Linked DNA regions of Homo sapiens: regions 1, 3, 4 and 5 are each linked to region 2. The links are contacts of gene promoters, found by promoter capture Hi-C in blood cells and fetal thymus (Javierre and others, 2016). All regions are on one chromosome and are shown on one strand. The core of a region is centred on a gene start or on the middle of the fragment in contact, and the rest is flanking DNA. Distances in the headings are between cores, read along the strand shown.

The links. The method cuts DNA at HindIII sites, captures the fragments that hold promoters and counts their contacts. A CHiCAGO score of 5 or more calls a contact.
Region 1: a contact is called between a fragment that was not itself captured here and the fragment with the promoter of OR4L1 in region 2, in 6 of 17 cell types (fetal thymus, M2 macrophages, total B cells and 3 more). The highest score is 7.2, in fetal thymus.
Region 3: a fragment that was not itself captured here is called in contact with the fragment with the promoter of OR4L1 in region 2 in 2 of 17 cell types (neutrophils and fetal thymus); the score reaches 7.9 in neutrophils.
Region 4: a contact is called between a fragment that was not itself captured here and the fragment with the promoter of OR4L1 in region 2, in 3 of 17 cell types (neutrophils, M2 macrophages and total B cells). The highest score is 8.4, in neutrophils.
Region 5: a contact is called between a fragment that was not itself captured here and the fragment with the promoter of OR4L1 in region 2, in 13 of 17 cell types (M2 macrophages, fetal thymus, M1 macrophages and 10 more). The highest score is 9.2, in M2 macrophages.

Annotation. Positions count from the first base shown.
Region 1 is chr14:20,091,898-20,094,597 of GRCh38, reverse strand. It overlaps the pseudogene OR4T1P. Among named protein-coding and RNA genes, the nearest start is that of OR4K17, 17 kb to the left of the region's middle. The HindIII fragment of the contact is 1,150 bases long and covers 697-1,846 here.
Region 2 is chr14:20,058,736-20,061,476 of GRCh38, reverse strand. It overlaps OR4L1 (olfactory receptor family 4 subfamily L member 1), which reads right to left and starts at 1,432. Exons shown (of 1, transcript NM_001004717.1): 1 at 494-1,432. The coding sequence starts at 1,432. The coding sequence ends at 494. The HindIII fragment of the contact is 2,043 bases long and covers 877-2,741 here.
Region 3 is chr14:20,015,710-20,018,447 of GRCh38, reverse strand. The region is part of intron 1 of OR4K14 (olfactory receptor family 4 subfamily K member 14); the gene reads left to right. Among named protein-coding and RNA genes, the nearest start is that of OR4K14, 2.2 kb to the left of the region's middle. The HindIII fragment of the contact is 1,890 bases long and covers 464-2,353 here.
Region 4 is chr14:19,998,860-20,001,695 of GRCh38, reverse strand. No RefSeq gene overlaps it. Among named protein-coding and RNA genes, the nearest start is that of OR4K14, 19 kb to the left of the region's middle. The HindIII fragment of the contact is 4,026 bases long and covers 1-2,836 here.
Region 5 is chr14:20,108,862-20,111,688 of GRCh38, reverse strand. It overlaps OR4K17 (olfactory receptor family 4 subfamily K member 17), which reads right to left and starts at 950. Exons shown (of 2, transcript NM_001004715.5): 1 at 797-950. The HindIII fragment of the contact is 427 bases long and covers 1,216-1,642 here.

The sequences.
Region 1 (2,700 bases), core at 22-2,521, 33 kb before region 2:
TCTCATTGATGGGAAATTAGGTTGACTCCATGTCTTTGTTATTGTCAATAGTGCTGCAATGAACATATGCATGCATGTATCTTTATAATAGAATGGCTTATATTCCTTTGGGTATATACCCAGTAATGGAGTTCCCAGGCTGATAATTATATTTTCAACAAAACCACACATGCCATAGAAATATAATAATGAAAAATTATATTTGATAATTTCAATATATGCAATATTATTTATAGAAATCAACAAATAAAATTAATATCAACATATTCTGAAACGTAATTTATATGGGTTCTGAACTAATATCCTGTCCTCATGATTGCTGATTAGAGAAGGTTTGTCTGGAGATGATGTGTTGGGTCCTCAGTTGATGTATAGATGCTTTCATCTCAGACTGTAAGTAATGGGGTTCAGTAAGGGTGTAACTGAATAAAACACAGAAAGAAATGTATCCACTGAAAAGCTCCTAAATGGCCAAGTGTAAATGTAGACACATGGCTCATAAAAATAGAGTGACTGCAGTGATATGAGCAGACAGTGTGGACAGAGCCTTGGAGAGTGCATCAGAGGATCGATGCTGCACAGTTACCAGAATAATAGTGTAGAAAATGAGCAAGACTATGAAGCAGATGAAAGACAACTGTCCACTTTTAGCAATTACCAGCAACTCCAGATCATAAGTCTCAGTGCAGGCAAGCTTCAGAACTAGAGGAAGGTCTCAAAATAAATTGTCCACCACACTGGGGCCACAGAAGGGCAAGGTGATAATAAAAACAATCTGGCTTATAGTATGCACAAAACCAACAGCCCGTGATAGCAGCACAGAGCCCATGAGTGGCCATGAGTACCCTGCAGTTCGTGATGGTTCTGCAGTGAAGAGGTCTGCATATTGCAATGTGCTGATCAACAGCCATAAATATGAGAAGAGTCATCTCACTGCCTCCTAAGAAGTGGAGATCTGAGCCATACAGCCCCATGAGGAAGTGGTTTTATTCTCCCTGAGAACGTCTGGACCATCTTAGAGATTGTGACTGTGGAAATAAACATACTGAGAAAGGAGAGATTTCCAAGGAGGAAGTACATAGGTGTTGAGCAAAGGGGAGGATTGGAGGTTACAGCGATTGCAGTGAGGTTTCCTGCCATGATTGCTGCATAGGCCAACAAAAATATTTAAGAAACAAAATTTCAAGTTCCCAAGTGCTGATGAATTCTAACAAAACAAACTCAGATTATTATTGAGCTGTTTCTTATATCCATCTGGTAGTTTTCAAAAGCTATTTGAAATAAAGATAGTCTGAAAAAAGTTATAATTTTACCTGTGACCATTTTGAAGATATGGACATATAGAAAGTATTTGATTCCTACAGAAAGAGAGAAGATGAACATATATGAAAAATACAATTTAATTAATTCAAGTGTCATTGACATTATTGTATTTTCTTCAATCAGAAAGGCACAAAAGATGAGAAATATATTATAAAATTCTGTAATTATGGTTTGCAGACATAGATTTTTGTCTCCACGTGCATTTATTGTCTCTATGATGAGTTCATGAGTTCTTGATGCATGAGTTCAATAGGTCCATGAGTAAAATTAGTCAAATAACTATTAGCCAAATGAGTTAGTCCAAGAGTGGATAAGAGCAAAGTTGCTTAGCTTTTTGGTGCCTAGTATTCATTCTTTTCCCTCTCTCTAATTTGAAGCATTCATACATGTGCAAGTGAGTTTACTAATACACCCAGTTTAACACATTATTTTATGGCACTTTCTTCTATCTGCTATACTATACTCTTACCTCTCTCTTTTATCCCCAAATGATATACCAATGATTTCACTTATTTCTGAAGCTTTAAGCTGGCTGCAGTCTGGCATATGTTCTTACTGTTCACCCCATGCTTTTATAATTATTTTAAAATGTTAACTTTCTAGAAAGTTTCTAGATAAAATCAAAAATGTTTCCCAGGGTCCAGATGTATTTTTTTTTCTTTTAGTGTAGTATTTTGTGTCATAATTTGGTTACTGTACAAAACTCCTACCATTACTGTGCAGACCTCTTGCTTATTTTCCTGAATCTCATGTTGTTGGGCTCCTGGCTGGAGTGCTTTCTTTCTTGTCCCTTTGCAATCTGTGTTTTGTAGACAGTCTCTGAGCAACCAACAATCCTTTATGTTTGTGTTTCCTTGGCTTTTAAATGCATATCTTCCTGTACCCAGTGCTTTCCTCTGATATTTCACACACATGCAAACTGCCTCCTGACTATTTTACTGGCTCTTACATCCTTGACACTTGTATTCTATATGTCTTCCCACATTGAGCTGACACTTTCGGCTCACTTCCACTAGGTTGGTGCAAAAGTAATTGCGGTTTTGCACCAACCTAATATCTTCCGTTTAGATTTGATTCAGAAATTTAATCCTAGCTTCCTTTTCCTTCTCTTTTATTTTTATGACAATTATTAGTAAACATCACATACATACACACACACACATAGAGAGAGGGGGAGAGAGAGAGAGAGAAAAGAGACGTACACAGATGCAAATGAACATATTTATACCACATTCTAGTTCTGGAGCACCAGAAGAGAAAAAAGAAAATCTATTCTATATTTCAATTTCATGGCTTAATAGCTCATCAGATATTCAGAATACATTATTTGGCTTAAATATCTAAGTTAAAAGGAAAACCTGAAATGCCAACATTTAA
Region 2 (2,741 bases), core at 183-2,682:
CTCTGGCATCTTATAGTCACTGTGCTGTTGAATTTGTGGACTCATTCTTACTTTTTGCCTCCATTGATTCAAGAAACTAGAATTGCTTTTTCTGTTAACATTATTTAATTCATGACTTGTTCATGATACCTCATTTAATAATAGTATAAATTTATGAATAACATTATCAATATATATTAAAATAACCTCTAATAATATTCATATCTTCATGTATTCATTTACAGTTGTTTCTTTATTAATGAATATATTGAATGTATATGATAAAAATCCTCAATAATCTTTTTATGTTTATTTATGTCTATTTTTATGTCTATTTTGCTGCAGATCTCTATCCTTATGTTTATAAAAGTCTTAAATGTAAAATTTAAAGTAATTTAGTATTGTCTTTATGCGTTATTATTATAACATAAGAAAAGTGAAATGATGCATTATACATAATCTATTCAAACTATCTTATCGTAGCATTTAAAAGTTAATTATATAGTGCTAACATCTAGAAATTCTGTGCAGAACTAACATATTGGAACCGTAATTTTCTTATGGCCTCTTGCATTTTCTTATTTCTCAGGGTATAAATACTCGGATTCAGTAAGGGTGTGATAACTGTATAAAATACGGCAAGAGTTTTATTGCTTGCCAAACTACTGAATGGCCAAACATAGATAAAAATACAAGGTCCAAAGAACAGAGTGACCACAATGATGTGGGCAGACAATGTGGACAGCGCCTTGGAGAGCCCATGTGATGATTTTTTTGGTACACTGACCAGGATGACAATGTAAGAAACAAGCAAGAGGATGAAACAGGTGAAAGAGAGCAGCCCGCTGTCAGCAATGACAAATAATTCCAGGGTGTATGTTTCAATGCAAGCAAGCTTGATCACAAGGGGAAGATCACAAAATATGTTGTTTATGACATTGTGGCCACAGAAAGGCAAGTTCATTGTTAAAACTATCTGGCTTATGGAGTGTAAAAAACCAATTATCCATGAAAGTATCGCAAACCCCTTTAGCAGCTTGTGGCTCATGATTGTCCTATAGTGCAGGGGTTTACATATGGCTACATACCTGTCAAAGGCCATGATTATCAGAAGAGTCATCTCAGCACCCCCAAAGAAGTGCATGAAGAACATCTGGGTCACGCAGCCCCACACAGAGATGGTCTTGTGGTCAGTGAGCAAATCTATGATCATCTTGGGTGTTGTGGCAGTGGAGAGACACATGTCCAAAAAAGAGAGATTTCCAAGGAGAAAGTACAAGGGAGAATGAAGGGTTGACCTACATGTCACTGTGACCATAATGAGAATGTTTCCCATCACAGTAGCACCGTAGATCAGGGAAAATGTCACAAAGAAGAAAATTTGAAGTTCCCATCGTCCAAAAAATCCTAGTAAAATAAACTCGGTCACTAGAGATCCATTTTTAAGATCCATTTACTCAACTCAGAAAGGTTCCAGAAGTTCTTTATATACAAAGAGAATTAAAAAATAAGTCACAGTTAACACCAATATTTTCTTATTTCTATTAGTTGGTGATAATAGTTGATGATATGAGATCATATAATTTTAAATATATCAACACAGAGATTAGCTTAAATATTATATCACTTTGAAACAATTACTCTGCAGTAATTACAAATCATTTGAAGAAGTAGAAGTTCCATTTTCTATTGTTTATTCCATAAAATCATACTCTTATCAATGGATCTTGACTTTCTTACTCATTTGTTCACATATAAAGATTAGATACTAATTAATTACTTTTTATTTTGCCTTTTATTATTATAGTATTCTGTACCTGCACTTCTTGAGATTATGTTATCCCAATATATAAGGAATACAAGATTTAGAAAATGAAGAATTACATTGTTCTACATCTCTGAAGTAATTTATGAAGGTTTTTCTATGGTTCTAAACTAAATAAGCAAACAAACAAACAAAAAGCACACACACACACACACACAAATCAGGAGCAAATTATACATGGATGAAAGTATATAAATTTATTTAAAATAATTTTTCTTTTTAATATACATGTATACCTCTTTTATTGTGTTTCACTTTATTGTCCTTTGCAGTTATTTAATGTTTTATAAACTGAGGGTTTGTGACAACCCTGGATCCAGCAAGTCTATTGGCACCATTTTTCCAACAGCATGTGCTCACTTTATGTCTCTGTGTCACATTTTGGTAATTCCCAAAATATTTATTTCAAACTTTATTATTATTATTACACGTTATTTGATCTGTGACCAGTAATCTTTTATGTTACTATTTTCATTATTTTTGGGCACCACAAGCCGTGCCCATGTAGAATGGCAGACAATTGATAAATGTTGTTTCTAACGGCTCCACCAACCTACTCTTCCCTCATCTCTCTCCTTCTCTTCAGGCCTCTCTATTCTTTGAGATACAACAATATTGGATTTAGGCCAATTAATAGCTTTGCAATAGCCTCTAAGTGTTCAAGTAAAAGGAAAAGTTGCATGTCTTTTATTTGAAATAAACTAAGAAAAAACTGGAGACAGTTAAACGTTCAGTGGTTTCCAGGGGTTTGAATGAAGAAGGAGAAATGAAGAAATAAGAGAAGTACGGAGAATTTGCAGGGTATTGAAACAATTCTTATCTACTATACTTAGAAATACATAACACATTTGTCAAAACCCATAGCATGTATAACATCAAGAGTAAATCCTAATGTAAACTACAAATTTGGGGAGATAATAATGTGCAATGTAGGCTC
Region 3 (2,738 bases), core at 159-2,658, 43 kb after region 2:
TTGCTTTGTGATTATGTCCCTTCTACCCGTTGGGGATTTTGGCTTCAGACTTAAAATTTCAGACTAAAGATGGGTAGCATCTAATTGTCAAAAAAAGTGTTGCAATTAAATGATTTAATGTAATGTTTTTATAGAAATTCAAGGAGAAGCAAAGCAATTTTGAATTTTCATTATCTTGACAACAGTCTGGTTGAGATGGGTGCTATTTGGGTGGACTAAAGAAGATATGGTAATTATTAATCCCTTTAGATTCTAAAAATCTATTACTATATCAAATTCTCATTATTAGACTATTTCACAACTAGAATAAGTTACTTTATTTCCCTGTAGAAGCCTTACAAGACTCTTCTTTTATGTTACATTCTTCAATTTTATAAAGGAACAACATTAAATGAAGGAGAGTCCTGCATCTTTTTTGTAATTTCTCATGAAGGATTCTATGTGATACCCCTTATTAAAAGCTTTATACAATATTTTCCTCTCAGTGAGGAGAGTGAGACTCCAGTTTATTGCTCATAAAAAAAACTAATTATGGGACCTATGCATCCTGTTCCATTTCATCTGAAAACTCAGAGCTACGTTTTAAAATAACGTGATGAACTTATTAGTCAATCATGTGTAATGGTGAAAACACCCTCAAAAATGATTGCATAGGTTTTATGCTCTGGTCTTTGTTGAGAGGTCTTGGAAATATCTTTTTCAGTGAAAGTCATCCTAACTGCATTTTCTTACTCATTAATCATCCTCCCTTTATTTTCCCACTCTCCCCACTACCCTTCCCATTGTCTAGTAACCATTTTTATACTATCTCCATCAGTTTATTTTGCTCAGCTTCCACATAATAATTTAAAATATTTTTAAAAGAAAGTCATTCTAAATCATCTCGGAGAAAGTTTATAAATAATAAATCTATAAATGATCTAATTCATTTATAGATAGATTTATGTATCTAATCAAATAGGCTTTTTATCCCAAATACAATTAATTTAAAAATGATAAGAGCAAAAATAAAAATCTGTGGGGTGAAGAAACTAAATAAAACCTAGGTTAAGTGATTTATTTCTTCTTGTATTGATTGGTTTTTATACCAAATAAAGTGAGATGAAGAACTGTGTTAGTGTCTTATAGATACAGTCTGAATGAGTGAGTGTGTAAGTGAGTAAATGAATAAGGAAGAAGATAGCCTGACTACTGCCAAGAGAGGTCCTGGAAGGGACTGAGATTTTCAAAATTCCAAAGGAAGTATTATGGAGATAACCAAGTTGGTAAAATAATTAAAAAATGATTGACTAAATATTTTAAATAGATGATTTTATATTATATAAATTGTACCTTAATAAAGTGGTTGGGAAAAAAAAGGAAATATTCCAAGCAGATTAAATATGGAAGAAATCTCAACATTATGGCTCTATAGGAAGCAATTTCTTGAGTTGAAATTTAACTGGAAAATAAGATGCAAATGCCTTGAAGAAGATCTACTTTTTCGCTCATTTAATCAAAAGCATTACAACACATTTTACCATAAATATTTTTATTCATTTTTTAAGAAAAAATGAATTATAATTACAACAAATTAAAAGCGTGATTATGAAGAAATATATTAATAATATAATACTCTATGTCTCTGTTAGGCTGATTATCAGTCTACACTCTTCTCTCTTCCTCCTTTCACCTTTTCTCTCTAGTTTGCTGATTACGGCCCATATTTCCAGCATATTGAAATATTCTATAAGTCTGTAAGTAAATCGTGTCAGATTTGTGCTATCTGTAAACTTGCAAATTATACATATCCAGGTTATTGATGAAGGGCAAGAAAGAGGAAAGAGTCCCACGTTTTGCAATTATAGGCTGTCCTCCCTGATAGCACAGATTAACACTTTAGATTAAAACTTTATGTAAACGAGCCATTATTTAGATCAAATTTTCCTCAGAGATATTATCTGAGAATATCAGAAAAGCCATTCTACAACCCACATATAACACAATAAATGAGACTTTTATAAAATTACTAAGCAACATACATAAGTTGGGTACATGATTTGGGAGCTCATCTGTATTTATACATCACCCCCCGCCCATAGTCGTTATATCCAAAACATGCGTTTTAGCTTAAAGTAATTTTTCTCCTTTAAATTTTGTCATTGAGGAACAAAATTTCCTTCTCTTGGATTCAGGAGAAAGACACGTTAATCATATTTATATACATAGATACATCTACCTATCAACATGCCTTTGCTAGGTTTAGTTTTGTGTTTGTGTGTGTAAATGGAGAGAGAGGAAGAGGAAGAGACACTTAATAATGTACATTCAGTTTCCCATGTCTTACGTGTTGACATTATTTTTAAGTGAAGCTTTAATTTCAATATTTAGTGCTTAACAATAATTAATTACCCATTGGGCAATGATATCGACAGAGATGGTGAGAAGATAGAATCCCTGAAAAAATCTTCATATTCTCAATCCTCCTAAGGAATTTTGGTTCACCTACTGCACTTGATTGATCCATGTTTTTATATGGACAAAGGCCATGGAAAGAAGGAAAAAAAAAGTTCCTACAACTCTCACCTATGCAGAAGTCTTCCAGAATGTCTAACTGCCCCTCAGGAATCACTGAAGTTTGAAAAAGGCAAATATACATGCTTGTTAGTATATAACAGTCTATATTTTAGAGTATCACTTGCAAGTTAAAAATTATACATAGATAACACTTAGTTGATCACTTTCATGTGCCAGGCAGT
Region 4 (2,836 bases), core at 56-2,555, 60 kb after region 2:
GAAAAGGGAATCCCTGTACCCTTTGCCATCAAGAAAACTCTTGTAGGACTCTAACCTGTGCACATAGCTACAGGAAAGATCACATTCCACTTGGGATTATTGCTAGTTCAATGACCTCTTAGTATATTTTCTTTGATATGCCTCTTCAGCTTACCATATTCTATAATACACTTATTTCCAGTTTATTATTGTAAATGATATATTTCTTATCTTAAATCATACCTGTGGGCATATAGGTACACATTATGCTTATAATGATCTAAATATAATTATAAAATGGTTATTCATGCATTGAAATGACTCTCCTTTGACTAGTCTATCAAATCAAATAAAAATCAACTATTTCTCTGAGATAAAAATAGCAATTTGTATGTTGTGTATATTTTTTCCATTTACATAAACAATAGCTGGAACATGCTACTGTATGAGTTGAAATGGGTGATGGTCCACGGAGAACTGCGGGGAGGGGTGTTTTTGGTGTTTTGTGATAGCTGTTATTCACTCAAATTCTATAGTTAAGTTGTGCCATACACAGAGCAACATTTTGAAGACTTAAGACATAATAGTTAGATAGCAATTTATAGTTTAAATATTGAATTTTATTCACCTTATTTTAGTTTATGCCACTGTTAAATCTATAAACGGTATACTTTCATTTAGGCAAATCGACGAGGATAAAAATATTAAAAAAATAATTTTAAACTAAACAAAAGTTAGCTTAAAAATAATAAAATTTACATATTCCTTATTTAAGGCAATGATGTAAATATAAAGATTACATCAATTATATGTAAGAGTTAAAAATATCAAGACACTATGAGGTAAAACTTCCAAATTTAAATATTAGTTTGTTGAACTGGTGTTTAAAAAATATTTATTAACTTTAGAAAATGGTCACATAATAAAAGAAAAAACAGGACACAAAACTATACTTAAAATATGATACAATCTATATATACAGAAAAGTTAAATTATATAAGACACTAGACTACATGTAAAGGCAATAAAATATTTATAAAAATTCACCTTAACAATTGAGACTTTCTTCTTACCTACTGAGAGTTCCTATGCATATCTGTAGGGTTTATGACATTTTATTCTTATATACAAAAATCCAAAAAATGGATTTTTTCTCTTTCTGCAACTTAATTATTACTTAACATTTCAGGTAATAATTTCTCTTAATTATAATCCATTTAACTTGTTTTGAGAGTAAAAGTTGTCTAGATATAACATCAAATAATCTCACTTTCAGAATCATGAAAAACATGAAGAAAATAATTATCTTCCCAATTCTCAGAAGCAAAGATTGTTAATTTTGCTAGCCATATACTCTTAAAACCTTTTAAAAATGCATTGTTTGATTTACACAATATAACATTGCATAGACAATATTATATTGAAAAAGAGCACAATTAGCATTGAATACTACTTCTGCAGGTAGGCCCTGATGACAGGAGCATGAAGAAAGGCTGTCAGTATAATAGATTTTAAGTCAAATTACATACCTTCTTGTCTGTAAATTCTTAGGTCCTGCAGTCATGGACTCCTGGCACATTAACAGTATACAACCATCCTAGATATTATAGACCAAGAAAATTAATGAATTAAGATGAAAACCCCTGGTTACACTGGCCACCATTACGAAATTTTGATGTTTAGGGATTTCAAGATTCAGCTACTCACAGTCAAATCACAAAGGAAATCATTAAAAATTTTTAATCAATCCTTTTTCAGAAATTATGAAACATAAAAATATATGGGATGTGAGGGTAGAAAGCAATTAATAGAAGAGGAAAAGAAGATCTGAGAGTTGTAATAATGTCAGCTGGATTTTATAGAGAGGTAAGGGTCCCCCTGGCCCACATGGCTGAGGTTAGTGGAAAGGGTGATGAAACATTAAGGAAAATTTGGCTTGAAGGGCCTTGCATTTCTTCTACCAGTACACCTTTGCTTGTACTGCTTTATCTGGAGTACCTTTTCTAATCAGAATTATTGACGTTAGATTTAATTTAATTTTGTTTAATATTACAAAAATGTCTTAAGTAAATATAAAAGTTTCCACTTTGTTCTTTTTCTGCCTCTATACCACTGAGAGGGGAAGAGAGGGAAGAGAAAGAGCGAGAAAGGCTTTCCTCAATACAGTAATATACCGTGGATGTGATTTCGTGTGCTATATTCAGCTCTAATTATTATTACTAATTTTTTTTAGATGGAGTCTTTCTCTGTCCCCCAGGCTGGAGTGCAGTGGCCCCATCTTGGCTCACTGCAACCTCCACCTCCCAGGTTCAAGCAATTCTCCTGCCTCAGCCTCCTGAGTAGCTGGGATTACAGGCCCATGCCACCACTCCTGGCTATAGTTCTAATTATTTTTAACTGATATATGATAATAAAACCATCAAATATGGTATGTTATAATAAAATATTCTATCAATGGGGTTGTAGATCATCTATTTTATCATTATAATAAAAGATTCTACAGTGAACAATTTGTTCATATTTCTTCAGACTGCTATTCAGTATATGTAAGAGACAGAGGCTGAAAGTAAAATTTCTGAGACAAATGTGGACAGGTATTTCTCCCCCAAAAAACTGTAGTAATGTATACTTCCATGAGCCATGTATGTGATGCTATTTTCATATTCTTTCCTACACTAGATAATATCATTCTTCAATTTTAATGATAATTTTTCAAATATGATGTATAATAATGATAGTACATTTTAGTTTGCATTTGCCTCAGCAGCACTGTGGATGAACATCTTTTCAGATTTTTATTAGTCACACATATTTTAATTCTAAAAATTGCATGTTCATCACTTTAATTTCTGAATGT
Region 5 (2,827 bases), core at 180-2,679, 50 kb before region 2:
TATAGCAGTTTTAGTTGTAGCAATTTCTTTCCTGGAAATTGTAGAAGCCTAATTAACGACAATAACACCAAAGCAAAACTCCAAATAGAGCTGATGACTGGGGATAAAAATGCTTACATGCTCTTAAATTAGCAAGGGTTTTTGAGATGTGGTCATTTTAATGACTTTAATTTAGGAGCAGCCTAGTTCTCTCTGCAAGAGCCTCTAGAAAGATAGTTTCAGGAAATGTAAGTCCATGCCAAGAAGAAATACATACAACCAAATCATGAATACTCTTGTTTTCTGACTCGTTCTGTTCACTGTTAATGTCCAAATCAATACATTCTCAGTGGAAACTTTCCTAAGAAACTGACTCAGTCGATGATTCTCTCCTCTGTACCCTCATAGTACTACCCTTATAACCTATAATATAGTTATTTATATATACTTCTGTCTTCCTCCCAAGTTTGTGAACTATTTTAGTTTGCCATCTTAACACCTGGTAAAGTTCCTAGCATATACTTAAGCCTCAGTGTCATTTTCCAAATGATAATAAATTCAATCATTTATTGAGGTTCTGCTGTTTGCTGGACTCTGTACTAGGAACTTCACATATATCATCTCATTTAGTCTTCGTAAGTCTGAGTTTAATTTTCTTTTTGGTACATTTTCCAGAATGTCTTGAGCATTTTCTCAAACCTGAGACTATGCTTTTTCATGACTGATTATAACAAGTTCATTTAACAATTGCTATCTTGTGTGAACTGTGACAGGCAAATACATTGGCTTTATAATGTCAGCAATGTCTTCTGCTTACCAGTTCAGAAGAAGTCAGGGCCATGGGTTCAGAGGGGACAATATCGAGAAGGGCATGCACCTTCTCAACTTATAGTTCCATAGAAGAAACAAGTCACTAAAGTATCTAGACTCCAATCAGGGGAGTTCCTAATACCGTCTCTCTTAGAATTAGGTAGTGCCTAATAAGTGCTGGAAAACTCTGGGAATCCTCTATAGATGATTCTAACGGTGATTCTGTCTGCTGAGGGAATAATGCTTCAGGGCCACAGAGTATATTACGTAATCAATGATAGTTTAAATGTGACAGATGAAGTTAATTTCACTAGGGTGATTGGAGAGGTTTTGGAGCTAGTGTCCTGCTTTCTTCTTTATTTTGTCTCAGCTGGCTGTGGGACCATTTAATTTTGATTCCTGGTTGTAAAGTAATGAGATTAAGCTTAATGTAGGGGCACAAGGGGAGAAAAGGATGCTGAGGTGGGCCCTTAGGACTATCCTCTGGTAAGATAAATGCCACCTCTATCACTAGGTGATATAAAAGCAGTGGTTGAGGTGGGTTATAATGAGGAGAGGAAGATATACGGGTAAACCTATAGAAAGGTAGAAAGGGCATAAGAGAGGTGTAATGAAACAGACAATGAACCTTATGAAGAAAGGCATGTGCGGGTTTGGAGCTTAATTATGACATTGCAAATATAAGCCAAACCACTTCTCTGATGCTTCAAGCATTCATTAGTTTCATTCACTTGCTCAGTAATTAATAGCCTATCTCTTAAAGGGAACAATAGTTGAGCTACACTATATGTTAGGCATTTGGCTAATTATAGGGCTATAAATACAGGAACACACTCCTAGCCCCCCAGAAGCTTATAGACTAGTGATAATAAAAATAGCCAGTTCATACATAGTTTCCTATATACTAGGCATGGGGTTAAACTTACAATATACTTCCTTTCTTATGTATTTACATAGAATGAATAGAAATTTATTTATTAATATAATAATTACTATTTATACAGTTGAATTATTTGATTGATAATTGAATTATTATAAGCATTGTTTTTGTAACTTTTTTTTTAATTTGTAAAGTTTTTTTGTATTTTTAATTTCATTATTATTATACTTTAAGTTTTAGGGTACATGTGCACAATGTGCAGGTTAGTTACATATGTATACATGTGCCATGCTGGTGTGCTGCACCCATCAATTCGTCATTTAGCATTAGGTATATCTCCTAATGCTATCCCTCCCCCCTCCCCCCACCCCACAACAGTCCCCAGAGTGTGATGTTCCCCTTCCTGTGTCCATGTGTTCTCATTGTTCAGTTCCCACCTATGAGTGAGAACATGCAGTGTTTGGTTTTTTGTCCTGGTGATAGTTTACTGAGAATGATGATTTCCAAATTCATCCATGTCCCTACAAAGGACATGAACTCATCATTTTTTTTGGCTGCATAGTATTCCATGGTGCATATGTGTCACATTTTCTTAATCCAGTCTATCATTGTTGGACATTTGGGTTGGTTCCAAGTCTTTGCTATTGTGAATAGTGCCACAATAAACATATGTGTGCATGTGTCTTTATAGCAGCATGATTTATAGTCCTTTGGGTATATACCCCGTAATGGGATGGCTGGGTCAAATGTATTTCTAGTACTATATCCCTGAGGAATCGCCACACTGACTTCCACAATGGTTGAACTAGCTTACAGTCCCACCAACAGTGTAAAAGTGTTCCTATTTCTCCACATCCTCTCCAGCACCTGTAGTTTCCTGACTTTTTAATGATTGCCATTCTAACTGGTGTGAGATGGTATCTCGTTATGGTTTTGATTTGCATTTCTCTGATGGCCAGTGATGGTGAGCATTTTTTGATGTGTTTTTTGGCTGCATAAATGTCTTCTTTTGAGAAGTGTCTGTTCATGTCCTTTGCCCACTTTTTGATGGGGTTGTTTGTTTTTTTCTTGTAAATTTGTTGGAGTTCATTGTAGATTCTGGATATTAGCTCTTTGTCAGATGAGTAGATTGTGAAAATTTTCTCCCATTTTGTAGGT